5 separate regions of the Homo sapiens genome follow, and all the other regions are linked to region 5. The links are contacts of gene promoters, found by promoter capture Hi-C in blood cells and fetal thymus (Javierre and others, 2016). All regions are on one chromosome and are shown on one strand. The core of a region is centred on a gene start or on the middle of the fragment in contact, and the rest is flanking DNA. Distances in the headings are between cores, read along the strand shown.

Region 1 (5,950 bases), core at 1,330-3,829, 640 kb before region 5:
GACGTGATATGCAAATGGATTGCAAATATAATGCAAATGACATGCAACTCCTCATGCAAATGAGCATCCTGTCTTTGGAATCGACTGCCGGGTATTCACTGATTTGTCTGCAGTACTGGCAGTAAATCTTTCAAGGGTTTGGGATGCAAGTTGCTTTGATGGTGATGTGTGTGTACTAGGGAGGAGGGGTAGTGGGATGGGGTCTCTCAAGGAGGAGTCGGTGTGGTGCTAACGCTTGCAGCTTAGTATGAAGCTTAATACAGTATACAGTTTAATATGAGGTTATTCTCCTGTGATGCTCTAAGGACTGACATTTCGGAATTGGTGGCGGGTGGTGGCAATGAAATGCAACTTCTTATATTCTTCAACTCTTTGGTTGCCTCACATCTTCTGTCCCATCCATCTCACATCATTGGGGTTCTGGTCCACAGGAGTAGAGAGTAGGGAGTCAGAGATCCCTAGCCCCAGGCCCTCATCATGAGGACTACAGAAGAGCTCTTGTAAATCATTTCTGGAGGAGGTTATGAGCATGGTGTGGAGTTCTGCACTTCCTAATCACATGACAAGCAGAATTTAGCTGAATTTCTAGGCCTGTTAGAAAAAGATGAGTGGTGACAAAAAGCATGGAGACTTTCTGAGAAATATAGCTGCTTAATCTCAATGCCAATAATGTGATATCTGACAAAATTGGGAAGCTTACTTGGAAATCTAAAGGGAAAAAATGTCAACTATGATTTTTTTCTTGATAAAAACCTGTTCTTCCTTGTCCTTGGTGTGAAAGGAAATTTGTGGTTACACAGACTCTTCCCCAATGATTATAAAAATATTGGGCAAATGATGCAAAAGACGCTTTAGCAGGTATATTTTAGCCTAACTCAAGATCTGTTTTTCTCTGACACTTTGCATCAGACCTGGGTTCAAACACTCAATTTTCAGCTATATAAACTTGGACAACTTATTCAACTTTTCTGAGCTCAGTTTCTGCATCTGTAGGGGAGTAATAGAATAATAGAATCCTTATGAGGCTGTCGTAAAGGTCACATGAGATAATGCATGTACTTAACACAGTGCCGGGCTCATAGTGAGCATTCAATTAATATGGCAATTTGCAATGACCATCTGTAGATTTGCTGCCTAGATTCCATTCATCCTCCATCTGATAACTGTACCCCATTTCTTCCTGGTGAACCATCATTTTCTTTTCATTCCATGTGGTCCTAATGAAACTGACTCCATCCTCAGCATCAGGAGTAGAACATGTGGCGTAAGCTGGGTGCAGTAGCTCACACCTGTAATTCTAGCACTTTGGGAAGCTGGGCCAGGTGGATCACTTGAGGCCAGAAGTTTGAGACTAGCCTGGCCAACATGGCAAAACCCTGTCTCTACTAAATATACAAAAATTAGCTGGGTGTGGTGGTACATGCCTGTAATCCTAGCTACTCAGGTGGCTGAGGCATGAGAATCACTTGAACCTGGGAGGAAGAGGTTGCAGTGAGCCAAGATTGTGCCACTGCACTCCAGCCTGAGCAACAAAGTGAGACCCTGTCTTTAAAAAACAAACAAACAAGGCCGGGCGCGGTGGCTCACGCCTGTAATTCCAGCACGTTGGGAGGCCGAGGCGGGTGGATCACGAGGTCAGGAGATGGAGACCATTCTGGCTAACACGATGAAACCCCGTCTCTACTAAAAATACAAAAAATTAGCCGGGCGCGGTGGCGGGCGCCTGTAGTCCCAGCTACTCGGGAGGCTGAAGCAGGAGAATGGCGTGAACCCGGGAGGCGGAGCTTGCAGTGAGCAGAGATCGCGCCACTGCACTCCAGCCTGGGCGACAGAGCGAGACTCCGGCTCAAAAAAACAAACAAACAAACAAACAAAAAAGAACCTGTGACTTAGGTTTAAATCATTCATACCATTCTATTCTTAGGCCACAGTGATTGGTTCAAGAATGGGGACATACACAGAGTTACCGTACAATCCAGCAATTCCACTTCTAGGTAACCTTGTATGATCAACACTCAGTGTATGCAAAGGATTAGTTCCAGACGCCCAAGTACACCAAAATCCATGCAAACTCAAGTCCTGCAGTTGGCTCTGCAGAGCCTGAGTATACAAAAAGTCAGCCCTCCATATACTCAGGTTTCACATCCTGCGAATACTGTATTTTCAATTTGCATTTGGTAAAAAAAATCTGCATATAAGTGGATCCTTGCAATTCAAACTTGTGTTGTTCAAGGGTCAAGTGTATATGAATGCTCATAGCAGCATTATTCATAATAGTCAAAAAGTGGAAGCAACCCAACTATCTACCACTTGGCATCAGAATGCTGCTATGAACATTCATGTACAACTTTTTTATATTCATACAATGGGCTATTATTCAGCAATAAAAAGGAATAAAGTACTGATTCATGTTACAACATGGATGAACCTTATAAACATTATGCTAAGCGAAAGAGGACAGACACAAAAGGCCATATATTATTTGATTCAATTTATATGAAATATCTAGAATAGGCAAACCTGTGGAGACAGAAAGATTAGTGGTAGCCAGGCACTGGAAGGAGGGGGAATGGGTAGTGGCTGTTACTGAGTATAGGGTTTCTTTTTTTTTTGAGACAGGGTTTGGCTCTGTCGCCCAGGGTGGAGTGCAGTGGCTAACTGCCATTTCTGCCTCCCAGGCTCAAGCACTCCTCCCACTTCAGCCTCTGGAGTAGCTGGGACCATAGGCACTCGCCACCATGTCCAGCTAATTTTTGTATTTTTTATAGGGAAGGGGTTTCTTATGTTGTTCAGGCTGGTCTCAAACTCCTGGGCTCAAGTTGTCTGCCTGCCTTGGCCTCCCAAAATGCTGGGATTACAGGTGTAAGCCACTGTACTTGGCCTAGAGTTTCTCTTTAGGGTGATAGAAATGTTTTGGAATTAGATAGTGGTGATAATCATACAACATTGTGAATATATTAAAAACTACTGAATTGCATACTTTAAAAAGATGAATTTTATGGAATGTGAATTATATCTCAATTTAAAAAACTAAACCAGATAAAATAAAACAGTGGACATATGTCTCAAGTAGACTAATGACAGCCAGTAAGACCCACTCTAATTCTTTGGAGTCATGAGGGAAGCAAACTAGTTCCTTTCTTTCAGGACTCCAACTTGAGAGAATATAGGGTCTGGAGCTGCTGTCCTGTCTTGCTATGTGTAGATCCGGAGACTGAATTATCCAACTCAGCTGAAAGCAGAGCCAAGAAATGGAGACACCAAGACCTGTTTACACATTGGAGCTACAGTAATTAATTGTCCCAGTTTGCCTGGGACTTTCCTGGTTTTAGAACTGAAAGTCTGTATATCACGTTAAGCTGGAGCTCCGAATCCACCTCTGCTTGAAGGTCAACATGTTACCCGTGGACTTTTCAATTACAGTCATGCACCATGTAATGATGTTTTGGTCAATAACGGATCACATATGCGATGGTCATTCCATAAGATTATACTACAATAGTTTCACTGTACCTTTTCTATGTGTAGATATTTTTAATTTTAATTTTTTTTTTTTTGAGACACAGTCTCACTCTGCCACCCAGGCTGGAGTGCAGTGGCGCAATCTCGGCTCACTGCAACATCTCCCTCCCCGGTTCAAGCGATTCTTGTGCCTCAGCCTCCTGAGTAGCTGCAATTACAGGTGTGTGCCACCATGCCTGGCTAATTTTTTTATTTTTGGTTTTTTTTTTTTGAGATGGAGTCTCGCTCTGTCACCCAGACTGGAGTGAAGTGGCGTAATCTCGGCTCACTGCAACCTCCGCCTCCCGGGCTCAGGTGATTTTCCTGTCTCAGCCTCCGAGTAACTGGGATTACAGGCAGGCGCCACCACACCTGGCTAATTTTGTATTTTTAGTAGAGACAGGGTTTCACCATGTTGGCCAGGCTGGTCTTGAGTTCCTGACCTCAGGTGATCCGCCCGCCTTGGTCTCCCAAAGTGCTGGGATTACAGGTGTGAGCCACCGAGCCCGGTCCTCTGTTTAGATATGTTTAGATACGCAAATACTTACCATTGTGTTACAATTGCCTACAGTAATCAGTATAGTAACACGCTGTACAGATTTGTAGCCTAGGAGCATAGACTAGACTGTATAGCCTAGGTGTGTAGTAGGCTATACCAGTGGTCCCCAGCCTTTTTGGCTCCATGGATGGTTTCATGGAAGACAATTTTTCCACGGATGTGGGGAGTAGGGTGGCAGTATGGGGGGTAGCAATGGTTTCAGGGTGAAACCGTTCCCCCTCAGATCATCAGGCATTAGTCAGATGCTTATAAAGAGCACACAACCTACATCCCTCACATGCACAGTTCACAATATGGTTCGTGCTCCTGTGAGAATCTAATGCTGCAGCTGATCTGACAAGAGGCGGAGCTCAGGCAGTAATGTGAGCAATTGGGGAGGGGCTGTAAATACAGAAGAAGCTTTGCTTGCTCACCTGCTGCTTACCTCCTGCTGTGAGGCCCGGTTTCTCACAGGCCATGGACTGGTACCAGTCCATGGTTGAGGACCCCTGGGCTATACCATCTAGATTTGTGTGAATACACTTTATGATGTTTGCACAAGGACAAAATTGCGTAAAGACATTTCTCAGAACATATCCCAGTCATTAAGCCATGGATAACTGTGCATGAGTCAATAAATTCTCTTTTTGGCCAGGTGAGGTGGCTCACACCTATAATCCCAGCATTTTTGGAGGCCAAGGCAGGCAGATCACTTGAGGTCAGGAACTTGAGACCAGCTTAGCCAACATGGCAAAACCCCGTCTCTTCTCACTAAAAATACAAAATTAGCTGGGCATGGTGGCGCACACCTGTAATGCCAGCTACTCAGGGGGCTGAGGCAGGAGAATCGCTTGATCCCAGGAGGCAGAGGCTGCAGTAAGCTGAGATCCTGCCACTGCGCTCCAGCCTGGGTGACAGAGCAAGATTGTTTCAATAAAAAAAAAGGCTGGGCTCACGCCTGTAATTCCAGCACTTTGGGACGCCAAGGTGGGCGGATCATGAGTTTGAGACCAGCCTGACCAACATGGTGAAACCCTGTCTGTACTAAAAATACAAAAATAATTAGCTCGGCATGGTGGTGCATGCCTGTAATCCCAGCAACTTGGGAGGCTAAGGCAGGAGAATCGCTTGAACCCGGGAGGCGGAGGTTGCAGTGAGTTGAGATCGCGCCACTACACTCCAGCCTCACAACAGAGCGAGACTCCGTTTCAAAAAAAAAAAAAATTCTCTTTTTGTTTTTGCCAGCATCACAGGTTGGGTTCTCTGAAGGCAGGCACTGAGACAGTTTAGGGTTCAAGATATTTATTGTGGAACAACACCTGTGAAAAGAAGAAGGCAGAAGCAGAATTGGGCAGAGGAAGAAGTCAAGATGCAGGCTCTTGGTCGATTTGGTAGAGAGTTCTGGAGAAAGTATTGCCTTTCAGAAGTTTCCACATTGGGCCAAAATGGCTGAGCCACACTATACTTTTCCCTCCTTTTCTTAATCTGAAAACTTCAAGTGATCCTTCAAATCTCAACTGTTAAGTGTTGCTTTCTGGGGGAAGCCTTTCCTGGAGCCCCCAATGACATTAAGTCCCACAGCACCTGGCTTATCTCCTTTATGTGTAGTAATTTGATTAATTAATTATTGTTTATTTTTTGTTTCATGCCTGTCTTACATGCAGAATTTTAGCTTCCTGAAGGAAGGGACCGTTCTGGCTAGCTATTGCTAGGTTGCAAACTACCCTATACCTTCATGGCTTAAAACAGGCTGATGAAATAGGACCCATTTACTAGATCCAGCCCATAGTCTGTTTTTGTTTTTTTGTTTTTGAGACGAAGTCTCATTCTATTGCCCAGGCTGGAGTGCAGTGGTGTGATCTCGGCTCACTGCAACCTCTGCCTCCTGGGTCCAAGTGATTTTCCTACTCA
Region 2 (5,830 bases), core at 1,962-4,461, 560 kb before region 5:
TTTGGTTTTTGTGAAGAGTTTGAGAAGGATTAGTGTACTGCTACCCTTCTTAACAGGCACCTTGCTGGCCAGTAAGTGCCTGTTAAACTCCTACCTTTTTGGAGCTTTGGCTTTGAAGTTGGGCCAGGTGAACTTTTCCATACTTTTTTGTTTTGACACTTCCATCTTGGCCGCCTGTCTGGGCAGCCAGCCATTCTGATTATGCAGCCTGGAAACTGCCCTTACAGGGTCAAGTTGCTAAGTTGGACTTTAAGACTGCGGCTTTTTCCATGTGTTCTCTGTTTCCTTTGGCTGATGAGTGTATGGTCTGATCTTGGGTTTGCTGAACAAGAACAAGGCCTCTGAGCCATTCAGGAGATCAGAACAAGTCAGCTGATAAGGGAGTAGGTTCTGTGCTGAAAATAATGTATTTTAAAGTGTTTTCTCAGATATTTAACATTTCAGGGTGAAAGATTCCATTGAGCACAGTTTTCCATAATTCTAAGTTCACATGTGATCATAGAGGTGGCCACACACACTTCTTTCCAAAGTAGTAATTTACATATGTATGCCATTAGGTTCTGCTGCTTTCACTTCCACTCAACAATTTTTTATGCATCTGCTTTTAAAGATAGGGGTCTCGCTATTGCCCAACCTGGAGTGCAGTGGTGTGATCATAGCTCACTGCAGCCCTGAACTCCTGGGCTCAAGCCATCCTCCCACCTCAGCCTCCTGAGTAGTTGAGACCATAGTTGCATCACCATGCCCTGCTAATGAAAAAAAAATTTTTTTTTTTTTTTTGTAGAGACAGAGTCTTACTTTGCTGCCCAGGCTGATCTTGAACTCCTAGCTTCAAGTCATCCTCCTACCTAGGCCTCCCAAAGTGCTGGGATTACAGGTGTGAACCATTGTGCCTGGCCAGCACCTGTTTTTATGTATTACCACAGTCCATATTTTTACCTATTTTAATGGCAGTGTTATTTTCCATTGTACTCTTCCAAATGGTTCTTTTTAGATTATTGATTTTATTAAATCAATGGCTATTTTTTGAGTGCCAGGAAAAGTGCTGGGCAATGAGGAGACAGTGGTATGTTACACAGACAATTGTCCCTCCCGCTGTGGAGCTCCCAGTCAGATGGATTCTAGTTATAGGCCTATGAAATAGAGCTTCACTGACACCTAAAACAGCCCTGGAGAGGATGAGGAGTTTGTGCAGTCCCTAGCTCTGGTTCCTATTGCTGCCTTCTAAAATGCGGGGGGACGTCTTGGCAGGACAGTGTCAGTTCTGCTTGTAACTGTGCTCTCAGCAAAGCACAGGATGGAAACCCTGTGACCATGGCAGAGATGGCTCTGAAGTGGAGCTGCCGCAGCAGGGAGAACTGCTGTTTCCTAGGCAATACTCTGCTTAATATTTTTAGCATGTGGTCATGACAGAACTAAATGTGGTTTCTGATCCCAAATTGGTAATAAATGTAGCCATATTTAGAGTCAGAAACAATGCATTTAAAATCCTCTGCTCCTTAATTGTCCTGCCAAGTACTGAGTTTAGGTTTCTTTGTTTCTTGGCTACCTACCCAGCTTCCTACCATCCCTTGTAGAAGGTGCCCGGATTTTCTCTGGGCATTCGGTGGGATTGTGAAAGCCGTGAGTTATGGCTCCCTGAGCTGTGTTGAGAGGCATCTGATTTTTGTGTTTCTGCCCACATATGTAAATGTGTACATTTTAAAATTCATCTCCCTTTCAAGTTTTTAAGGATCTGGTATTATAAATAGTCTTGGGCTCTCAGGCATGTTAAAAATAAAATGTTGCAGTTGCTGACTTACCTGGAAGACATAGTTGATACCAACATGGTAGTAGCAAGTCCTGTGCTTGGTGACCCATCCTCGTATTGTTGCTAAGTGTTTCTGTAAGTAAATGCTATTTTCTTGGGGCTCCCCAATTAGTTTAAGGAGTACCCTAATTATTGCCTAGCTCATTATTACAAAGTTGTAATTAGTGTCTTTTTTTTTTTTTTGAGACAGAGTCTTGCTCTGTCGCCCAGGCTGGAGGGCAGTGGCTCGATCTCGGCTCACTGCAACCTCCGCCTCCCAGGCTCAAGCAATTCTCTTGCCTCAGGCTCCCGAGTAGCTGGGATTACAGGCACCCATCACCACACCTGGCTAATTTTTGTATTTTTAGTAGAGACGGGGTTTCACCGTGTTGGCCAGGCTAGTCTTGAACTTCTGCCTCAAGTGATCCACCTGCCTCGGCCTCCCAAAGTTCTGGGATTACAGGCATGAGCCACTGCACCCAGCCTCAACTAATTTTTGTATTTTTTAGTAGAGATGAGGTTTCACCATGTTGGCCAGGCTGGTCTTGAACTCCTGACCTCGGGTGATCCACCTGCCTCAGCCTCCCAAAGTTTTGGGATTACAGGTGTAAGCCACCATGCCCGGCCCCAACTAGTTTTTGTATTTTTTAGTAGAGATGAGGTTTCACCATGTTGGCCAGGCTGGTCTTGAACTCCTGACCTCATGTGATCCACCTGCCTCAGCCTCCCAAAATGCTAGGATTACAGGTGTGAGCCACTGCGCCTGTCCTTTTCTTTTTAATAATTATGCTGTCTGAGACTAAGATGTGGAAGGCCACATTATCCACTGAATGTGAACAGGACATCATCCACCTGAGGCAAGTGACAATATCTTTTGTATATTCTGTTCCATAGTATGGTGCCCAGTGTGCTCAAGGAACTGACATTAATGCTGAAATTATCTTTGTGTGGTATTTGCTTTTAGAGTGTGAGTGCTGAATGCTTGCAATAGAAATGGCAAACAAATTGTACTTACCAGTTAGCAGATAGTTCCTTTAGAACTATGGACTGGAAATCATACCTTCTTCCCTATTTTAGCCCCTTTAAGAGGCCCTGATGTTTTCTGGAAGCTTAGAGACATCAGGGGAAAGGAAAGATGAATTCTGATCTCTCCTCCCCTCGAACCCTGACCGTGGTATCTGGATGACTGTGGTGTGAAAGTCCCTGGTGTTCTTTGGGAGCAGGCTATAGAGAAAGCCCATCGCACATACTGTCAGGAGATCCAGTTACTATTTTAAAAGGGGAGGGAAGAAAAGCCCTGGGACCCTTAGTCCCTGGATGCTAGCTGCATCTGTCTACAGTGGTCCCAGCAGTCTAGGTCAGCTGCATTTGCCCCGGCTGTTCCTACTCTCCCTGACTCCCCCTTAGAGGTAGGAGAGTGGCAGCAGGAATTTGGAGACAGGCCTGAGTCATCAGGAAGCGGGACTCTGAAGTGTTTGATGTCAGTCAGCTGGCACTGATGCAGAGCCAGCCAGCATCGCTTAAAGGTTTCAATGGAAATGTGTCTGTAACCACCCAGAGTATAGTCCAGGTGTGTGGGCTGACTTGTGGCTCAGGGAAGCTAGTCTCCAAAGAGGGGCTTGGTTGTCAGAACAGAAGACAGTTCTGTATGGGGGTGAAGCCCTCGCTGCTTTTGCTTATCCTATTCTTTGCTCAGAATTTTCTCTAATAATAGTAGTGAGAGCTATAAGCTTTATGAGCCCTCATTTTGTGTCAGGCACTGTGCTATATGCTCTATGTCATCTCATTTAATATAGACAGTCATACTAAATAGTTACTATCAAGTCCTCTTATAGATGAAGGGGTTGAAACTTGTAGAGGTTAAGCATCTGGCCCAAAGTCACACAGCTAGTAGGGGAGACTTGGCTCAAAATCCAGAGCCTGCATTCTTCCTATTACACTGTAGTGGGTTGGAAGGGAATGGAGCTTCTTGTAACCTTGGTTGTTATCAGACATGGGCTGATCACTCCCGGTACCTCAGGCAGGGTCAAGGATCAGGTATAAGGAGTAGGTCCCCTTGTCTGTATCTTGCTAGGAGCTTACAGTCTAGGACCTACTGGAAAGTACAGACTAGGACCTGAGTATTCCTCTGATTCATCTGGTCAACTGCTGGTATGCTTAGGCAAGCCCCATTCACCAAAGAAGACTCCGTCTTTGTCTGCCATGTAGAAATACTTCTGTCTTGTGTATTTTCTGCATGGAGGGGCGAGGTGTCAAGTTCTTGCCAGACAGTTGGGTGTGTGTATATACGTGGTGTGTGTGGTTGTGGTTTGTGTGTGTGTGTGTGTGTATATGTGTGTGTGTGCCTGGCACTGGGCTCCATGAAGGGGAGCAGGGATGCTTTTGCTTCGTGTATAGCTAGGAAGCTTGAGTGATAGGAGTTTAAGGGATCAAGTCACAAAGGAAGCCTGGCTGCAATCTGAGTCAAGGGATTTCTTCTTCCTGAATGCCTGTGCCTATGCCTTGGCTGGTCTGTGCCAAGGGCATTTAGTAATCAAGGTGCCTGTGTGTGGTATGTGTGTGTGTGCGCGTGTGTGTGGTGTGTGTTTGTGTGTGGTGCAGAAACTAGAACATGGTAGAGGTGGGTCTTTCCACAAGAGGGCCCCAGTAGGCTCATTTAAAAATTTCTGTCCTTTCTACATATGGCTAGCCAGTTTTCCCAGCACCCATTCAGAGGTGGGAATTGAACAATGAGAACACATGGACACAGGAAGGGGAACATCACACACCGGGGACTGTTGTGGGGTTGGGGGAGGGGGGAGGGATAGCATTAGGAGATATACCTAATGCTAAATGACGAGTTAATGGGTGCAGCACACCAACATTGCACATGCATACATATGTAACAAACCTGCACATTGTGCACATGTACCCTAAAACTTAAAGTATAATAATAATAAAATTAAAAAAAAAATTTCTGTCCTGACACAAAATGTGCCTTTTTATTTATACTGTTGCAGAACAAATAAAATGATGAGTCCAGTTTCTGTGGCTGATTTCACAGACCCCTCGAGAGACAGCACGGCTATGGAAAGAGCATGGCTTTGGGGCCAAACTGGCTTTGAATTCTGACTCTACTGCTCTGTGGCTGCATGAACTCTGGCACGTTACTTAACCTCTCTGAATTTTGGTCCCCTCATGGGTAAAATGAGCAGCATATTGGAACCACCTCAGAGGGTTGTCGTGAAGAGTAAATGAACTAATACTTTGCTTGCAACATGGAAAGTTCTCTATAAATGTTGACTATAATTATTATTTGACAGAATTAATTTTCCTCTGGGATGCCCAGATAGTATATTTGAATGCTGGGGGAAGGGGTGGCACTAGGGTATTTCTCTGTCTCCGCCATGGCGGAGTTATTATTACATTTCCACAAAGTGGAAGGACTAAAGCCTCCGGGCAGTCTGAGGCATGGCTGAGAGCCCAGAGAAGGTAGAATTGTGTCTGATGGGAGTTTCTTCTTAGAAATTTTACCTCCCTGCCCCCTCCTTCTGCTGGAGTGACTGATGCCCATCATTGTCCTGAGGTCATGTGTGTTGTGGGGTAGCTCTTCATCAATCATAGGAACTTATGTATGGTATTGAAGAATCCCTCTGTTGCACCCATGGAGGAATTTTTTTTTCTCTTTTCTCATTAAGACTTTAGTGAAATGTTGAAAAATCACATTTAGAAATGTGGCCTCAAATCTTCAAAATTTAGTGGACCCATTGAGCCTTTTGGAGTGGCCTACCCTTGTGCCTCTATGTCTTCATCTGTGGACACTCTTTTGAAGGGCCCTCTGACTGCCTCATTGCCAAATCCAGTGACTGATCTCCTGACATTGTTGCCTACAACTGGATTTTCTCAGGATTCTCCACTCTTTTGACCTGTGTAGGTCTGCACTAATCATGTGGCTGCTCCTCTGGTTTCCTTGCTTGCTCCCTTTTCCTAACGTGCAGCCATGAGTTGAAGACTATGCTTGGTCCGCTGTCCTTTTCTCTCTAAGGTTTCTCCCTAGAAAGA
Region 3 (6,166 bases), core at 1,751-4,250, 610 kb before region 5:
TTTGACCTATAGGCTACCCATCTGTATCCTTTAGGTAGAGGCTGGAGTTTCACACATTTAAATTCCTTGTAAAATAATAAAGGTGGGGGAGGGGAGGACATAGCTTGAAAACTTTTGAGGGCGTTTGGTGAAAGCCTATCTTTAGATAAAAGTGTCCTATGATTTTCTGTGGGTAGTGACTTAATCTCTTGGGTTCGGCCCTGTAGAACATCTATGGTCTGGGCTTTATCCTCCCTTATATTCTGATTTCACTGGGCTATGAAAAGCAACTTTTGTCCCTAGAAAGGTGGTGACTCAAGAACTTTTGCACTTTTTGCCCTTTTGCTCAGCTTCCACTGAGGCAGGTTTGATAGTTGTTCCTGCTTCTGGCTACTTTGAAGGGCCTGGTGGTCAGGCTGGTGCAGCATAAGGTCCCAGAGGCCACTTCTGTTAATGACATCTCTGAGAAAGAGCTCTGGGTGAACAAATACAACTAAAAGGGAAATACATTGTACAGAATCACTGCTTAAATGTGGTCAGCCAAGGGGCAAAACAGTATAATAGCCAGAAGGAAGTCTGCATCTCCATGGAACCTTTTGCAAGGTGATATCTTATCCTCTGGCTGTCTCATTTTTTTCATAGTCCCTAAGTGCCCCAGCAGTGCTTACTTGCCTGGCATCACCTTCTAGGTCTGAGAGTGTTGCCACAAATGATATCCCCATCTCCAGTAGAAATTAGCTGCCTGGGATATCTCGGGCAGACTACATGAGAAACTGAAAGCAGTGCAGTTTGTCTCTAGTGAGAGGCCCTGGGTAACTAGAGAATTGGGAAGGAGGGAGACTTACTTTTCACTATATGTCTTTGTGTGCCTTTTCAAATTTGAAACATATGCATATACAGTAAGTCCTCACTTGACATCGGTCATAAGTTCTTGGAAACTGTGACTTTAAGTGAAATGTATACAAAACCAATTTTACTATGGCTCATTGGTATAAACAAGAGTTAAGTTCCTACAGAATATTTCTTGTTACAGAAACATGACCAAACTTCTAAATAAAGACCAAAACACTTCTAATATTAAAAACTGAGATAAATGTGAGCTATACATTCCTTTAAGAAGGATTAACAAAAACAAGTGAGATAATTACTACCCTATTAGTTCAGGGTCTTGGGTGGCCAGAGCCCATCCCGGCAGCTCAGGGCACCAGGCAGGAACCAGCCTTGGACAGGATGCCATCCCATTTCAAGGTACACTCACACACCCTGACACTCATGCAGACTGGACCCCTTACACGCAACAGTGAACCTAACAGGCACGTCTTCGGGATGTGGAAGGTGACTGAGGACTTGGAGAAAACCCACACAGACATGGGGAGAATAAGCAGACTCCACACAAGCAGTGGCCCTGGCTGGGAAACAATTATTTTTTTCTCGTCGGTGTTATAAGGAAATAATGTTGATCGAAGCAATGTTATTTGGAGACCTGCTGTATTGTTATTTTTTAAATGTAGCTGAGCAGACCCATGTGTGGTCTTCTCTTCAAATTTTACTCTGTCCTCACTTTATTCCTGACATATGGATTTCTCTGTAAACAACTGGACCCAGTCGCTGTAGACTGCCTCTCAGATGTGACAGCTTGGCCTCTCTGCTCCCTAGAAATGTCCTAGGGTTTCTCATGCAGGGGTCTTTGGAATAACAATCAGGTGTAAAGTATGTGCAATATTTTACTGTTTTCAAATTTTACTGTTTTCAGTCTGATTCTTATGACATCCCCATTTATTTATTTTTTAGTTGTAGTTTTTTTAGAGACAACATCTCACTCACACCCAGGCTGGAGTAACAGTGGTGTGATCGTAGCTCACTGCAACCTCAAAATCTTGGGCTCAAGATATCCTCCCACCTCAGCCTCCTGAGCTGGGACTATAGGCATGTGCCACCATGCCTGGCTAATTTTTTAAAATTTTTTTGTAGAGATGGGGTTTTGCTATGTTTCCGAGGCTGGTCTTGAACTCCTGGCCTCAAGCGATCCTTCCACCTTGACCTCCCAAAGTGCTGGGATTATAAGAATGAGCCACTGTGCCTGGCCACACAACACCCCCATTTTATGGTGGTAAAATATTGAGGCTCGGAGAGTCTAAATGACCCATTTAGGGTCATACTGCTAGCCAGAGTAGGGCTGTGACTAATCCAGGTAGCTTTGTCTCCTATTAATGTACCTTGTTCTTAGTTCTTGTAGCAATGAGGCAGTCCTCTTTGGAATTCTTTACCATTTCCAGGACCATTGCAGTTAGGGCAGGAATGGAGTGGTGGTGATTCCTCTTTCCTCTTTTGGTTTGAACCCTCCTTTCAGGATGCTTAGTTACACAGGCCTGTCCTCTCTGGAAAAAGGGGATCAGTAGTAGGTTTCTCCACTTTTTGGAGAAACCTAAACTAAAGCTTCAATGGGGCAATACCTTTTAGGAGAGTTTGAACTGACAGTCTGGCTTCCTATTCTTTGCGGAGAGTTATTGCTGCTATTAGGCAGAGGGCTTTGTTTCCAGGTTACAAATCTTTTTAGCAAAGAAGTGAGTGTGGAATAGAATTGGAAGGACTTGTGTAGTCCTTGGATATAATTTAATGCTCCACATCCCAGAGAGAGTAAACATTGTAAAGTGTGCAAGATGGGTTTGGATTAATATCCTGACAGCATGTGGCTTGGCATGTAGGGCATTCCTTGGAGACCCTTCTTACCATACACAGCCTGCCTTTGCCGGGTGGCCTCTTCCCACAGGTCTTCCCAGCAGCTGTTGTGCACCTGGGTGAATCATCCGCTTCCCTGTGCTTTGAAAAAACCCATTTTAACTGATGAAAGCCCTCATACAGGAGGTGCAATAAACAGACAACCTTGAAAATGTTTTTTAGTACAACCTAAGCTGCCTCTGAGTTTGTCCAGGGTATTCACCTCCATTAGGAGCACTGGCTGATTCTCACCTCTGGTCTCTTCTGAATAGAATATGGAAAATCACCTTGCCCTTTCTACTCTGCTGCACCTGACATCATGGGTGTGGAAGGTCTCTGGAAACTCCGGGGAGGCAGGAGCACCATGGACATGGAGGGAAGGCTCATTTGCTTCTAAGGACCATGCAGAAATCCTTGGCTTTTTACTTCTGTTAGTCCTACTTAAATCAGAATTTAAAGCCTTCAAATAGAATTCTGTGTATGGCTGACATAGCATGGAGTAGGGAAGGCTTCTTTGTAATTTCTGAGGAGAACTTGGGGGCATGTAGAGGTCATGCTTAGGTTCTTTCCTTACCCAGACCTGACCTGTGCCGGGCCAGAGAGGTTTGCCCTAGAAAGCTGATGACTTAGGACCTTACTGGTGTGCAGCTTTGCAGGCCTGTAAACTTAGTTAGTTCATCCAGGTTTCAGTTCCTGGGGGCCTGCCTCAGGCATGTGAAATTCATAAGAGACCATCAAGTCACAGTTCCAGTTAACTAACTCCAATAAACATGACGACTAAGTTGATTTATGTGGACATGTAAGAGCATCTCTCCTCTGTAGGAGAGATTAGCTGGGAAGCCAGCTCCCCTCTGGAGGAAACCAAGGCAAATTATGGTGGCAAGCTTTTGGGTCATAGCATCAGATACACCCAGATTTAAACCATGTAACAGCTGTGAGACTTCAGAGGAGCTACTCAACCCCCCTGCTCCTGTGTCCTCAGCTGTGAAACCCCCTGGGTTTTTCAGATATATACATGGTAAGCACTCAATAAATGTTTTGTCTCACTTGTTTCTCACTCTTCCCTCTTCCCCTTTTCTCCTTCCCACTTTGTCCTTCTAGGGCTATATTGTAATCTGACCAGAATACACTTGTCAGTCTATTAAGGCACCAGGTACTGGAGATAGACTCATTTTTATTCTCTTGGCTCCCTTTATATATTCTTTGCCGTCCACGGCTCTTTTGTTACCACAGGTTACAATAGGAACAGTTAGATTCTAGCTCTTGTCAGTGGCTTCCAACCTAAGGGTTCTTTCTGGTTACCATTCAGTCCACCATTATTTGCTGAGTACCCATTGTGTGCCAGGACCTGCTTAGCCCTGGAAATACAGTGATGAATGAGACAGATGTGGTCCATGCCTTGAGTAACACCTCTTCAAACCCCCTCCTTAGATAGGTGACTTCTGTGGATGACTCGCCCTGCTCATTCCGTGTTGCGTCATATTAATTTCCTTCTGAGAGGGCAATCTTCTCCTTAGACCTAGGGAACAGTGCCTTTTTGTGCTGCGTGGACCTTGCCTGCTGGCTTGCCTGCTCCCAAGCAATGAGAGCAGCGTGTTGAGGCTGAAGGAGAAAGCCCCCCGGGCTACTACTGCCCTGGCCACACATGTCCCAAGAGGCTGCACTTGGCACTTCTGAATGTTCCTTTTCTCCTTGCACACAGATTATAGTGTTTACTGCTCGTTTAAATTCAAATAACCTTCCACCCCCTTCTCTGCCTTAAAAAAAACCAAAAAAACAAAAACTGTGTATTACAGTGTAGAAAACAAAACAGGCCAGCCCTGGTCCCCTGGCGAGGTTTGTTTTAACATCATTTTTTAGTGAAGCCTTGCTATGGGTTGCCTTTACTTTAATAGGGCTAATGTGTAATTCAGGCATATTGATAGTCTGCAGTTAAAGAATCTCACATCTTTTTTCTACCTTGATTGTCATCAACAGTGTGAAAGGTAGATGCAAGGGCTTTGGCTGACAGGAGGTGGGACTTCTCTGCTTTGGCCTCCAGACTCTATCCTGGACTCTGGCGGGTCCTATAAAGAAGGCTGAGCAGCCAGTTTAGTGATTTCTCAACTTCAAAATAGAAGCCTGGAGATAGTCCTACCCCTCCTCTCCCTTCTGCCAATTTTACCAGCAATTGCCAAGAACTGTGTGTGGGGAACCAGGCAGAATGACTCTCTGGAAATCATTTGTTTGAGAACTCCCAGTGGAGGAATGCATTTTCCTGTGCTTCTTCTCTTGTGATGGTGTGTGCTGTTGTGATTTGGTACTGCTTGTCCCTCTGCAGTACTGAGACTTGTATATAACTCCTCCAGCCCTGCGGGGGTTTTCAACAATAAATTGCTTGCTGGGTAGTATTTCCCCCAAATCCCTGGGAGAGCAGGGGAGCATGTTAACAATTAGGGACCTAGTTGAGCCTCTGTTTCTGGCACTGTGACTAGAGGCATGGTGGGTGAACCCAGATGAGCCATGTTTCCCACTGCTGCTCGGGCTGGGCATTTATTGCAGTTGGATGTAACATTAAGAGTCACACTAGAGGCTTGGTTGGAAAGGAGAGAGCACTGCATAATTATTGCTTATGTACTGTTTAAACCTATCAGCCAACAGATGTCAAGTGCAGAAAAAAAGCACAATAATGTTATTATAATGGCATAATAGTTATCATTATAATAATCAGCTGGCATAGGTTTTGATAAGAGGCAGATCCTGAAATGAGTGCAGGGGGAAGGGTTAACCTTGAACTACAGCACAATGAATGGCTGCTTAACCTTGCAGAAGATGCTGTGTAGAGGCAGGTGACTCAGGTATGGAGTTGCTACCCTCTCTGCCTAGCTAGAGGAGCTATGGAGACTTCAGCTGGGATTGTCTACCCTGCAGGTACTGTCTTTCTGATGGTGTGATGGAGCACACCATCCTTTGGTTTAAGGCATGCTACACTGCAGGAATACCATACTAGTGCCCAGAGCTGTGGGTTCTGGGAAATGCAGAGACTTCATCACTGTGGTCTCATTTTGGGTTTTCAGAAAATCCAGCCTCATGCCCATAGTTGCAGATGATGAATTTTGCTCCCTACAACAAACTGTGCTCCAAACCTAGGAAGTGGTGGTGCATCTCAGTTTTGTATGTATCAATTGTGGTGGGTTGTGCTCATGGAAGACAGACTTTTCTTTGCCAGAGAGCTTACCAGGAGCTACATTCCCAATTCTGGTTAGGAAGGTGGTGGTAAAGGGGTGAGGAGCAGAGTGGGGCTAATAGATGACCCACAAAGGCAGCATTGGGGTAGGAGAAAAAAGTCTGATTCAGGCAAAGCTGGGTATGATTTTTTTTTTTTTTTTTTTTTTTTTGAGATGGAGTTTTGCTCTTGTTGCCCAGGCTGGATTGCAATGGCGTGATCTCGGCTCACTGCAATCTTCACCTCCTGGTTTCATGTGATTCT
Region 4 (6,105 bases), core at 2,664-5,163, 710 kb before region 5:
GTTCACACCTGTAATCCCAGCACTTTGGAAGGCTAAAGTGGGCCGATCGCTTGAGGCCAGAAAGTTCAAGACCATCATAGGCAACATGGTGAAACCATGTCTCTACAAAAAATACAAAAATTACCCAGGCGTGGTGGCATACGCACCTGTAGTCCCAGCTACTCCGGGGCAGGGGTAGACAGGGTCAGGGGTGGCTGATGTGGAAGGATCGACTGAGCCTGGGAGGGGGTGGCACTGCACTCCAGCTAGGCAACAGAGCAGGACCCTGTTAAAAAAAAAAAAAAAAAAAAAAAAAAAAGAGCGGCCAGGCGCAGTGGCTCATGCCTGTAATCACAGAATTTTGGGAGGCAGATCGTTTGAGGTCAGGAGTTCGAGACCAGCCTGGCCAACATAGTGAAACCCCATCTCTACCAAAAATATAAAAAATTAGCTGGGTGTGGTGGCGCTCGCCTGTAATCCCAGCTACTTGGGAGGCTGAGGTTGCAGTGAGCCATGATCACACCACTGCACTCCAGCCTGATCAACAGAGCAAGACTCTGTCTCAAAAAAAAAAAAGAACCTTAAGTGGATGCAGTGAAAAAAGAGGCCTGAGCGCCAATCCTTGAGGAACTTTAATCAAGTATAGCAAAGGAAACTTAGTGGACAGGGGTAGGGGGAGAAAAGCAAATATATGTATATATGAAGGGAAGGCAGAGGAAGGAAAGCACAGAAATTGTGTTGCCTTGAAAACAACAACAAAATACTTCAAGGACAAAGTGATCAACAGGGTCAAATGCTACCAAGAGGTCAAGATGAAGACCAATGACATCTACAAGATTTAGCAACATGGATATCAGGTAACATTGAGAGTTGCTTCCACTGAAGCGTGAAATAGACTGGAAAGGCTGAATATGGGAAGAAGGAAGACAAAAAGTACTCAATGCAGAAAATTTTGGCTATGAAGAGACTAGAGGAGAGAAAGCAGGATTAAGGGTTTTTTGTTTTACTACGTGAGGGACTTCAGCACAACGAATTGGCAGTAAGGATATCTTAACGAAGGAATTGTTGGAAAGACAAGGAGATGGGATAATCCATAATAGAGGTTCCTGAAAGGATAGGGAAGAAAGATAATTTCCTTTACAGTAACAGGAGGTATGGAGCAGACAGTGCTGAAATTTCATTAGATTGGTAGAAGGAAGACATGGACATTATAGTCAGCTAATATCAATTTACTCTGTGAGAAAGTCTTCTGTTGAGAGCTGGAGCTGCAAGAAGGAAATTTATATATTTATGTATTTTTTATCATATTTATAAATTTAGAGACAGGGTATATATTTAGAGATGGGGTCTTGCTCTCTCATCCAGGATGGAGTGCAGTAGCTTGATTGTGGCTCACTGTAGCCTCTAATTCCTGGGCTATAAGCTATCCTCCTTCCTCAGCCTCCCAAGTACTGGGACTTACAGGGGTGTGCCACCACGCCCAGGCAAGGAAAATGTTTAAATAGCCATTGTGAAAGTGGAACTGCAATCTTACATCTGTATGTTATTTTCTGTTTTTCAAAGGTTTGAGCAAAGCTTACAAAATGTGATTCACATCTTTGAGGCCAATCATTTGACAGGCTTGGAAAAGGAATTTGGTAGGATTCATCAAGGGCTGGGGCTTCCCTCATGATGTTGGCCGGGTGTGGTGGCTCACGCCTGTAATCCTAGCACTTTGGGAGGCTGAGACGGGCAAATCACAAGGTCAGGAGTTCAAGACCAACCTGGCCAACATGATGAAACCATGTCTCTACTAAAAATCCAAAAATTAGCTGGGTGTGGCCGGGCGTGGTGGCTCATGCCTGTAATCCCAGCACTTTGGGAGGTTGAGGCGGGTGGATCATGAGGTCAGATCGAGACCATCCTTTCTGACATGGTGAAACCCTGTCTCTACTAAAAATACAAAAAAAATTAGCTGGGCGTGGTGGCAGGCACCTGTAGTCCCAGCTACTCGGGAGGTTGAGGCAGGAGAATGGCGTGAACCCAGGAGGCGGAGCTTGCAGTGAGCTGAGATTGTGCCACTGCACTCCAGCCTGGGCGACAGAGTGAGACTCCGTCTCAAAAAAAAAAAGAGATGATGTTTAAACCCACCATGTAGCTAGCTTTGGAAAGACAAAATTTTTTTGGAGGGAATCTTACTTTTCAGTGACTCTTGAGTCTTCCACTCAAAAGCTGATCTGCTTTCTACTCTGCAAGTCTGATTCCAACTGATCTTGTTCTCAACTATTAGATGAAACAACAGCCTCTGGTCCTTTGGCAGACAGAAACATGACTGCCTATCAAATCTCAGTTCAGATACACACCTACCCATGTTTGCATAAGGTTCTAATGCCATCTGGTGATCGTGCAGAGAAAGTCAAACTTTTTCAACGAAGTAATTATTTATTGAGGAACTTAGTGATGATGTGGGAGATTCAAAAGAAATATAACAGGTGCTTAGGGGCTTATCAGCAAAAAGACACAAAGGAAAAAAAGTTTGGTTTTTGTTTGTTGGTTTGTTTGTTTTTTGAGACAGGGTCTCGTGTTTCCCAGGCTGGAGTGCACTAGTGCCATCTTGGCTCACTGTAGCCTTGATTTCCTGGGCTCAAGTGTTCCTTCACCTCAGCCTCCGAGTACCTGGGACTACAGAAGCGCGCCGCCAAACCCAGCTAATTTTTTTTTGGTATTTTTTGTAGAGACGGGGTTTCATTATGTTGCCTAGGCTGGTGTCGAACTCCTGGGCTTATGTGATCTGGCTGCCTTGGCCTCCCAAAGTACTGGGATTAGAGGTGTGAGCCACCATGCCCGGCCACCAAAATTAATGCAAGATTTCATTCATCAAATGCCTATTTCATGAAGGACATTCTACAATGATGGAAAAGACAAACTTCCAGCCCTTAGGATCTTGGTTTGATGGAGATTGACAAGGAGTTTGACCTCAAAGTGGGCCTGTTTGTGAGCAGGCATGGGTAAAAAGCTGTATTCACATTTGGGTGTGGGAGTGGGTGTGCATCAGGAATGGTAAAGAATGGGGCCTTTCAAAGCAAGAATTGCTGGTGAGACTTTGAAAGGTCTAAGTGACAAGTTTGGTACAGCTTAATGATGAAACTTTTTTTTTTTTAGAGACGGAGTTTTGCTCGTTGCCCAGGCTAGTGTGCAATGGCGCAATCTTGGCTCACGGCAACCTCCGCCCACCGGGTTCAGGCGATTCTCCTGCCTCAGCCTTCTGAGTAGCTGGGATTACAGGTGCGCGCCAACATGTCCAGCTAATTTTTGTACTTTTAGTAGAGATGGGGTTTCGCCACATTGGCCAGGCTGGTCTCGAACTCCTGACCTCAGGTGATCCACCCGCCTTGGCCTCCCAAAGTGGTAGGATTACAGGCGTGAGCCTCCTCTCCCAGCCCTGTAATGAAACTTTCAATGCCAGAATAGAGTATGGATTTGAGATTATAATGAGGACCTTTTCCAATTTTGAGTAGAGGAAAAAGCAAGAAAAGATTGGGGACATATACTTTGACACCACAAAATCCATTAAAATATATTATGTGAATATGAGGAGTCCTGTCATCAATGACATTTTTCTTGAAATTTCTTTTGATGAGAAAATTAAGCTTGACAAAGGTAAAAGTCCTAAAAGACGACAAAATGGAATTATGGAATTCACACCTTTGAGGTCAACCATTTGATATTCAGCAGCCAACTAATATTTGAGAGACTATTTATTACTATTGTATACTAGGCACTTGCCAGTACATAATAGTAAACAAAATAAAACAAAATAAAAGGTCTCTGCTCTCATGGAGCTCAGGAGTCTAGCAGAATAGACCACTATTTACATGCTCTACTAAGCAGTTGATAACACATTTTAATTACCATTATTCCTTTTTTTTTTTTTTGAGACGGAGTCTGGCTCTCTTGCCCGGGCTGGAGTATAGTGGCATGATCTTGGCTCACTGCAACCTCCGCCTCCCAGGTTCAAGCAATTCTCCTGCCTCAGCCTCCCAAGTAACTGGGATTACAGGCCCGTGCCACCAGCTTGGCTAATTTTTGTATTTTTAGTAAAGATGGGATTTCACCAAGTTGGCTAGGCTGGTCTTGTACTCCTGACCTCAAGCGATTTGCCCGCCTCAGCCTCCCAAAGTGCTGGGATTACAGGTGTGAGCCACTGTGCCTGGCCAACGTACCATTATTCCTATTTCACATAAGATATCAAGAAGCTTGTCCACAGAGGAGGTCTACAGAAATAAATAATAAAATTAAAAAGTCCAGGCACAGTGGCTCACACCTGTAATCATAGCACTTTGGGAGGCCGAGGTGGGAGGATTACTTGAGGGCAGTTCGAGACCAGCCTGATCAACACAGTGAGACCCCATTTCTATTTTATAATAAATAAATAGCTTTTAAAAAGAAGATTGCCTATGATCTTGCAGCTAGAGACAAATGCAGAGCCTTTGAATGTTATGCTGTCTGCAGCAGAGTTGACACCTCAGAAATCTACTGGGACAGTTTTAATGCCCTGGAACCAGGTCATTTTTTAAGGCTACTTAAAAACAGAAAACTTAACCAGTAGCTGCTCTTCTAGCAGTGGCAAGAGGATGGGGTCAGGTCTTACAAAGGAGTTTTTGAAAAGGTTATATATGAATTTCAAAACTCTGTCTTTTGAGAGTTTAATTATAATGTGTCCTGGTCAAGATATCTTTAATATATTTGGGGTTCTTGGATCTGGATATTCATTTGTCTCTCTAGATTGGGGAAGTTTCCTTTAAGTAAACTTTCTGCCCTTTATTCTGCTCTTTCTGAAATACCCAAAGTGCGTATATGGGTTCACCTGATGGTGTCCCATAGGCTTCACTTTTTCATTTTTTTTTCCTCTGACTAATTTCAAGTGATCTGTCTCAAGTTCATTGATTCTTTTTTTGAGTCTGTTGTTGAAACGTCTGTGGAATTTTCCAATTTAGTCATTGTGTTCTCTAGCTCCAGAATTTGGTTCTTTTTAATGATTTCTGTTTGTTGAACTTCATATTGTTCATGTCTTGTTTTCCTGATCTCATTTAATTCTTTTTTTTGAGACGGAGTTTCACTCTTATTGACCAGGCTGGAGTGCAATGGTGCAATCTTGGCTCATTGCAACCTCCACCTCCCAGGTTCAAATAATTCTCCTGCCTCAGCCTCCCAAGTAACTGGGAGTAGAGGCCTGTGCCACCAGTAGAGCGAGATTCTGTCTCAAATAAAAATTTTAAAAATGTCTTGAAATTCTTATTCTGGCCCACAGTTTCTTCAAGACACAACAGGGCAAGCATTGAGGAATTTTAATAAAAAGTGATAAATCATATCATGGGGCAAGACTAGGGATTAGAATGTGGCATTCATTAAGGCTTTCCAGAGGAATATTTTTTAAAAATCTAAAAGACTATGTTTTGTTCTGTTAGGACAAACAGAACCCACTGCACACTACAGCAAGAGTAGCCAAGATGTTGACCATCTGAAACAAGGTATTTGGCATTTGAAATAGTTGTAAGAATCTGTAAGTAAGACATTTGAGTAGTTCCTTCAAGATGTTAGATTGAACGAGGTTGATGATTGAAGAAGCAGAAATTTACAAGACTTGAGGGCACTATACATGAAAGCTCCTAAACCAAACAGTACTTTTGGAGCCAGATTCATTCAGCACCACACAAGTTCTCGTGTGACTGTGACTTTGGGCAAGTAACATGTACCTTGTAGGGCTGTTGAAAAAAGAGATGTGTTAAATGTATTTAACATGGTCAACATGTAGTAAATAGTGTTGATATTCTATGGCGCCACATGTCCCAAAGTATACCCTAATGACAAAAAATCATAGATTCAAAGATTTTATTTTTTATAGAACCCCAGAATAATAACATATTATAATTATACACTTCAATCTGGTTATAAGTTATATCCTCGCAGCTACTTACCAATATGCCTGCTTGTAAGAGAGGTTCTTCAAGTTATAATTTACACAAAGATGTCTCACAAATTTTCTCAAATATAAAGATATTTACAGATTACTGAAATAAGTAACAAAAGCCTACACATGTGTTTTAGTTAACAGATGTCTGAAATCTAAATAGCAAGTCTCTGCAA
Region 5 (6,345 bases), core at 1,192-3,691:
TTGCTACCATGCCCAGCCAATTTAAAAAAAAAAAAAAAAAAAATTGGCCGGCCGCAGTGGCTCACGCCTGTAATTCCAGCATTTGGGATGCCGAGGCGGGCGGATCCCTTGAGTTCAGGAGTTGGAGACCAGCCTGGGCAACAAGGCGAAACCCCGTCTCTACGAAAAATACAAAAATTAGCCAGGCGTAGTGCCGCATGTCTGTAATCCCAGCTACTCGGGGGAGGGGGGCGCTGAGGCGGCACTGGAATCATCTGAGCCCAGAGAGGTGGAGGCTGCAGTAAGCTGAGACTGCACCACTACACTGCAGCCTGGGCGACAGAGGCTAAAGATGGAGTCTCACTCTGTCGCTCAGGCTGATCTCGAACTCCTGGGTTCAAGTGATCCTCCCACCTCGGCCTCCCAAAGTGCTGGGATTACAGGCGTGAGCCACCGCCTGGCCACCCCTGCCTTCTGAGAGAACTAAAAACAAGAGAAATGAAGTGTTAAGTAACTAGTGAGGATAATATAGTAATAGCTGACAGTTAAGAGTGTGTGGGAGGCTTTTTAAAAACTTTTAGAATCTATATAATCTATAACCCATGTTACGTTAGACTTTTGTTTATTTTCTTACTCCCACTGCCATCCTCCTCAGAATGTAAACTCTTCAGTTAGCTTCTTTCCCTCCCCAACTTTCCCCAACATTTCCTTCACAGTTCCTCACCCAGGGGTGACTACTTAATAATACAGATCTTCCTGAAGAGATAGGGGGTCTGAAACATTTCTCTTTTTTTGAAAGCGGGCTTCCAGGACAAATTGCTTCATCTCCAAAATCAAGTTCAATCTGTCATCAGCCATTCGTTCGTGTTTTGCTTTCGCTGTATTCCTACCACCTGGGAGAGTGACTGACACACGGTAGGCATGCCAAAACATATCTGTTGAATCAATTAATTCCTCTTCTTAAAAATCTAAAACTGGGTTGGGCGCGGTGGCTCACGCCTGTAATCCCAGCACTTTGGGAGGCCGAGGCAGGCAGATCACGAGGTCAGGAGATCGAGACCATCCTGGCCAACATGGTGAAACCCGGTGTCTACCAAAAATATAAAAATTAGCTGGGCGTGGTGGCGCGCGCCTGTAATCCCATCTACTTGGGAGGCTGAGGCAGGAGAATAGCTTGAACCAGGGAGTCAGAGGTTGCAGTGAGCCGAGATGGCGCCACTGCACTCAAGCCTGGCGACAAAGACTGCCTCAAAAAAAAAAACAAAAACCTAAAAACTGGTCACAGGGTAGTGAAGTAGTTGACATCCTGCCACCAGCACAAGGTTTAAAAAGGGCCAGAGGAGTCTCAAGTCAGGCCCAGCACAGTGGGGAGAGGAAGAGCCTGAAGCTCAGCTATTTTTCTTTTTTTTCTTGAGACGGAGTCTCGCTCTGTCGCCCAGGCTGGAGTGCAGTGGCGCGATCTCGGCCCACTGCAAGCTCCGCCTCCCGGGTTCACGCCGTTCTCCTGCCTCAGCCTCCCGAGTAGCTGGGACTACAAGCGCCTGCCACCACGCCCGGCTACTTTTTCGTATTTTCAGTAGAGACGGGGTTTCACCGTGTTAGCCAGGATGGTCTCGATCTCCTAACCTCGCGATCCGCTCGCTTCGGCCTCCCAAAAGTGCTGGGATTACAGGCGTGAGCGCCCGGCCAAGCTCAGCTATTTTTTTTTCCCTTTGTGCAGGCTAATTGGCCTAATGTTCTGTGTGAATCAAACGCTTCGTAGTTGGAAACCCAAGACCCCTGTGATAAAACGCAACACGAAATTGTTTAACGTCTGTCTGCATATCCAAGTGTCTTTCAAGTTGTGAACAACGGGCGGGACCAAACAACAAAAGTACTGACGTCCTCACTTCACAAAGCCACAAGACAAGATGGCGCCGTCCTCCAGGAGCGGGAGCTGGGAACACGTCCACGCCCGGGGGGTGTGCACGCGCCCGGGCTCGCCCCAGGGAACGCTGGCGTGCACTCGGGCACCCAGTGAGCGCCGCAGTTAGTCTCCACCCATGTTTTCCGCCACTCCTTGCGCACATGCGCTCTAGGTTCTTAGCTGGATGTCTGTTGCGCCAACAGGCTCCTCCTCCCGCGCAACTGACGCAAGAAGACTGTAATCGGTTCGCAATTTATCCCGTGTGACCTTGAGTCTTTCCTGTCGCCGAGGACCGGGGCTGTCCGAGATACGGCCTTCATATCCCTCTTCCTCCCCTGGACTCTTTCTGAGCTCAGAGCCGCCGCAGCCGGGACAGGAGGGCAGGCTTTCTCCAACCATCATGCTGCGGAGCATATTACCTGTACGCCCTGGCTCCGGGAGCGGCAGTCGAGTATCCTCTGGTCAGGCGGCGCGGGCGGCGCCTCAGCGGAAGAGCGGGCCTCTGGGCCGCAGTGACCAACCCCCGCCCCTCACCCCACGTGGTTGGAGGTTTCCAGAAGCGCTGCCGCCACCGCATCGCGCAGCTCTTTGCCGTCGGAGCGCTTGTTTGCTGCCTCGTACTCCTCCATTTATCCGCCATGATAAGTGCCAGCCGAGCTGCAGCAGCCCGTCTCGTGGGCGCCGCAGCCTCCCGGGGCCCTACGGCCGCCCGCCACCAGGTGAGGAACTGGGACCTTCCCGAATGGGGTCACGGCCTCGGGCCTTGGGCCTCGGGCTTCGCTGCGGCAGGCCGCGCGCCCTTTAGGGTTTGAATTCTCCAGTATAGGTCAGGCGGGAAGGAAGGTAACGGGCCTTCCATAGTTAGCGCTGCCGGGTCAAGATTTTGCCCAAGGTTTTGCCTCCGGCTTGGGCCCTGCTGAGTCACACCCCTCGCGATCTAGAGTGTCATTTCAAAATTACCAGGTAGTGGTCCTCATGGCCTGTTCTGTGGCTGAATGGAAAGGTTTGGCCTTGGGGGTGAGGGATGCAGTCTATTGGGAAAGCCACTATTTTCAGTTTTATTTTTGGCTCCTCTACAGAATACAGAGTGTGTAAGGATCCCGTTGATACGGTGAAATAAAATAAGAAAGCTCTGAGTCGGAACTCCAGTTTTCGTGCTTAGCAACATTTTCTCAAAATCTGTGGTGTAAGATTGTACTCGTTTGTTACTTCAGAAAAAAAAGCAGATCGTGGGGCGGAGAAAAGGCTATGGAGTGGTTACTTGTTTTCTAAAATAAAAGACAAATGCTTTAGAGAACAGGAATTGTATGTGGGCATTAAGGAAGGCTTGGAAGGAGCCTGAGGTTAAGTTGTAATAAAGGTCTTTTATCCTAGTGAAACGCCACTACTTTTCTTTTTTCTTTCAAAGACCCTTAGTAACTCTAGTTCTTTTAAACTAATTGCACGGCAAGGTAAGGGGAAGTGTTTTCCCCCAGGGGACATCTGGCAATGTCTGTGGATATTTTAGGTTGTCACTTACTTACTGGGGTGCTTATTGGTTTCTAGGGTGTCGAGGCCAGGGATGCTGCTGTATATCCTACAATGCACAGAACAGCCCCCACCACAAAAATTTCGCCCAAAATTAATAGCGCCACGGTTGAGAAATCCTACTGTAATGTGATTCTAAGGCCATCTTTTATTTACCTTTTTTCGTCTTACTTATTTGGGAAACTTTAATATTTACTGTTTTAGTAGCTTAATGTATTTTATATACTAAGTGAGCCCAAGTTTTCTCTTTTTCCTCCCAGGATACACACTGGTTGGTGACTGAGTCAGTTTTTTCTTTTTTAGGATAGCTGGAATGGCCTTAGTCATGAGGCTTTTAGACTTGTTTCAAGGCGGGATTATGCGTAAGTATAATATCATTTCCTTTGAGAGGGAATACATATTAAACTTCAAAGCAGTGTTTTCTACATTTGTGATTATTCTTCTCTGTAATTATTTATCTGTATTTATTTAGAGATTATGTAGTATACCACTGTTAATTTTCCAATTAAATATTATCTTCCAGTGACTTTGGTCTATCAAGATAACAATAGCTGTGACACTGTTCTAAATGTCTTACAGATCAGAAGCAATCAAGGGAGCAGTTGTTGGTATTGATTTGGGTACTACCAACTCCTGCGTGGCAGTTATGGAAGGTAAACAAGCAAAGGTGAGCATGATTGATAACTAGTACCTTATCCAGAATCTGTCCAGAATTCTGTGCTCTTTTCCTTAGTTAAGGAATTTGAGAACCTGATTTGCGCTTTTTTTTTTTTTTTTTTTTTTTTTTTGGAGACAGTCTCTATAGCCCATGGTGGAGTGCAGTGGCACGGTCTCCGCTCACTGCAACCTCTGCCTCCTGGGTTCAAACAGTTCTCCTGCCTTGGCCACATAGCTGGGATTACAGGCATGAACCACCATTCCTGGCTAATTTTTTGTATTTTCAGTAGAGACAGTTCCACTGTGTTGGCCAGGCTGGTCTTGAGCTCAAGTGATCCGCCCACGTTGGCCTCCAAAGTGCTGGGATTACAGATGTGAACCACTAAGCCTGGCCTCGAAGTACTTCCAACTAAAACAGCAAAAACATAACTATAGATCAGGGCTGACCGGGCATAATGGCTCACGCCTGCAGTCCCAGCACTTTGGGAGGCCAAGGGGGGTGGATTACCTGAGGTCCCAAGTTCAAGACCAGCCCGGCCAAAATGGTGAAACCCCGTCTCTACTAAAAATGCAAAAAATTGGCCGGGTACAGTGGCTCACACCTGAAATCCTAGCACTTTGGGAGGCCAAGGCGGGTGGATCACAAGGTCAAGAGATCGAGACCATTCTGGCCAACATGGTGAAACCTGTCTCTACTAAAAATACAAAAATTAGCTGGGCGTAGTGGCACACACCTGTAGTCCCCGCTACTCGGGAGGCTGAGGCAGGAGAATCGCTTGAACCCAGGAGGTGGAGGTTGCAGTGAGCCAAGATCACATCACTGTACTCCAGCCTGGGTGACAGAGCGAGACTTTGTCTCAAAAAAAAAAAAAGAAGAGACTATAGATCAGGTTTTTCATACCCAATGTTGGGACAAGAATCTTTACTTCCACATGGAGAATTATATCTACTTCTAAGTTTTTTGGGGGGTTGGCCACAGATATCAGGCATATAGGAAAAATGCCAAGAAGCCCAAATTAGGGCCAAGAGAAGGAATAATCTCTTGGTGCCAAACAAGTGGGATAAGAAGACCATAGACAGTTCAGGTTATTTCAGAAGAGGAGATTGGGGGGAAAGGAAGTATGAAAGCAAAAGAGGCCATGAATGGAAGAAGCAAGAGTCAAGAATTCCAGGTGTTCTAAATCTTGCTAAGAACCCGGTGGGAATAAAGGTTGCATGTACAGAGTAAGGAGGCTTCAAAAGAAATAGCCTGCTCCAATGAACAACATGCATTACTTCAGAGATGAAGCTCCACTTCTAGTCTGTCTCTGCACACCCAACTTTGTTTCAATTTAGAAAATGCAGCACTTTGGTGGTTACCAGAGTAACCAAACAGTGCAAGCCATTCCCACCCCTCTTAATAGTAAATTAGTAGTCCTACCTCTATACCACATTTAAATCCTTTTCTGGGAAGTTAGATACATACAATTATCAGCACTACAAAGGTTCACCTGACAAGAGTCTTAAGCAACCAAAGCAGTTTTTAAAATGTAAATCAGGGCCAGGCCTGGTGGGTCATGCCTGTAATCCCAACACTTGGGGAGGCCACTTGAGTGTGGGAGTTGAAGATCACCCTAGGCAACATAGCAAAACACTGTCTCTACAAAAAATTAGCCGGGCATAGTGGTGTGCCCCTGTAGTCCCAGCTACTCTGGAGGCTAAGGTGGGAGGATCAGCTGAGGCTGGCAGGTCAATGCTGCAGTGAGCCGTGACAGTGCCACTGCACTCCAGCCTAGGTGACAGTGAGACTCTGTCTCAAAAAAAAAAAAAAAAGCCAGGCGCAGTGCCTCAAGCCTGTAATCCCAGCATTTTGGGAGGCCAAGGTGGGCGGATCGCCTGAGGTCAGGAGTTCGAGACCAGCCTGGCCAACTTGGCAAAACCCCATCTCTACTAAAAGTACACACACACACACACACACACAAAATTAGTTGGGTGTGGTGGCAGGCACCTGTAATCCCAGCTACTCAGGAGGCTGAAGTAGGAGAATTGAACCCAGGACAGGGAGTTTGCAGTGAGCCGAGATCGCGCCACTGCACTCCAGTCTGGGTGACAAGAGCGAGACTCCCTCTCAAAAAAAAAAAAAAAATAGTAGTTTGAAAGTAAAGGGCTAAAGATACCTTAACTAAATATCTACTGTTCATTAACTATCAGCAGTAAAGCATGCCCGGTAGTATTGTTGATGTGCATTTGTTTCGCAATTTGGGAGCTGTTTCTGTGTCTTAAATGATTGCTGCAAA

Evidence for each region. Contacts are between HindIII fragments. The CHiCAGO score rates a contact against its expected background, and 5 or more counts as called.
Region 1: a fragment that was not itself captured here is called in contact with the fragment with the promoter of HSPA9 in region 5 in 1 of 17 cell types (endothelial precursors); the score reaches 6.5 in endothelial precursors.
Region 2: a fragment that was not itself captured here is called in contact with the fragment with the promoter of HSPA9 in region 5 in 1 of 17 cell types (endothelial precursors); the score reaches 6.2 in endothelial precursors.
Region 3: a fragment that was not itself captured here is called in contact with the fragment with the promoter of HSPA9 in region 5 in 1 of 17 cell types (endothelial precursors); the score reaches 5.6 in endothelial precursors.
Region 4: a fragment that was not itself captured here is called in contact with the fragment with the promoter of HSPA9 in region 5 in 14 of 17 cell types (erythroblasts, naive CD8 T cells, naive CD4 T cells and 11 more); the score reaches 14.4 in erythroblasts.

Annotation. Positions count from the first base shown.
Region 1 is chr5:139,209,378-139,215,327 of GRCh38, reverse strand. No RefSeq gene overlaps it. Among named protein-coding and RNA genes, the nearest start is that of SIL1, 14 kb to the right of the region's middle. The HindIII fragment of the contact is 3,764 bases long and covers 698-4,461 here.
Region 2 is chr5:139,136,433-139,142,262 of GRCh38, reverse strand. All of the region lies in intron 1 of SIL1 (SIL1 nucleotide exchange factor), which reads left to right. Among named protein-coding and RNA genes, the nearest start is that of SIL1, 59 kb to the left of the region's middle. The HindIII fragment of the contact is 621 bases long and covers 2,901-3,521 here.
Region 3 is chr5:139,180,290-139,186,455 of GRCh38, reverse strand. All of the region lies in intron 1 of SIL1 (SIL1 nucleotide exchange factor), which reads left to right. Among named protein-coding and RNA genes, the nearest start is that of SIL1, 15 kb to the left of the region's middle. The HindIII fragment of the contact is 1,166 bases long and covers 2,418-3,583 here.
Region 4 is chr5:139,284,632-139,290,736 of GRCh38, reverse strand. It overlaps LOC124901081 (a long non-coding RNA gene), which reads left to right. Exons shown (of 4, transcript XR_007058956.1): 2 at 5,427-5,489. SNHG4 (small nucleolar RNA host gene 4) reads right to left here. Exons shown (of 7, transcript NR_182757.1): 7 at 5,837-6,105. It also overlaps a transcript of MATR3 not described here. Among named protein-coding and RNA genes, the nearest start is that of MATR3, 6.1 kb to the left of the region's middle. The HindIII fragment of the contact is 606 bases long and covers 3,611-4,216 here.
Region 5 is chr5:138,571,497-138,577,841 of GRCh38, reverse strand. HSPA9 (heat shock protein family A (Hsp70) member 9) reads left to right here and starts at 2,441. Exons shown (of 17, transcript NM_004134.7): 1 at 2,441-2,604; 2 at 3,716-3,774; 3 at 3,992-4,079. The coding sequence starts at 2,524. The region is part of intron 1 of LOC105379193 (a long non-coding RNA gene); the gene reads right to left. RefSeq lists enhancers at 1,847-1,986, 1,564-2,212, 2,127-2,406, 2,647-2,696, 2,213-2,860. The HindIII fragment of the contact is 10,827 bases long and covers 1-6,345 here.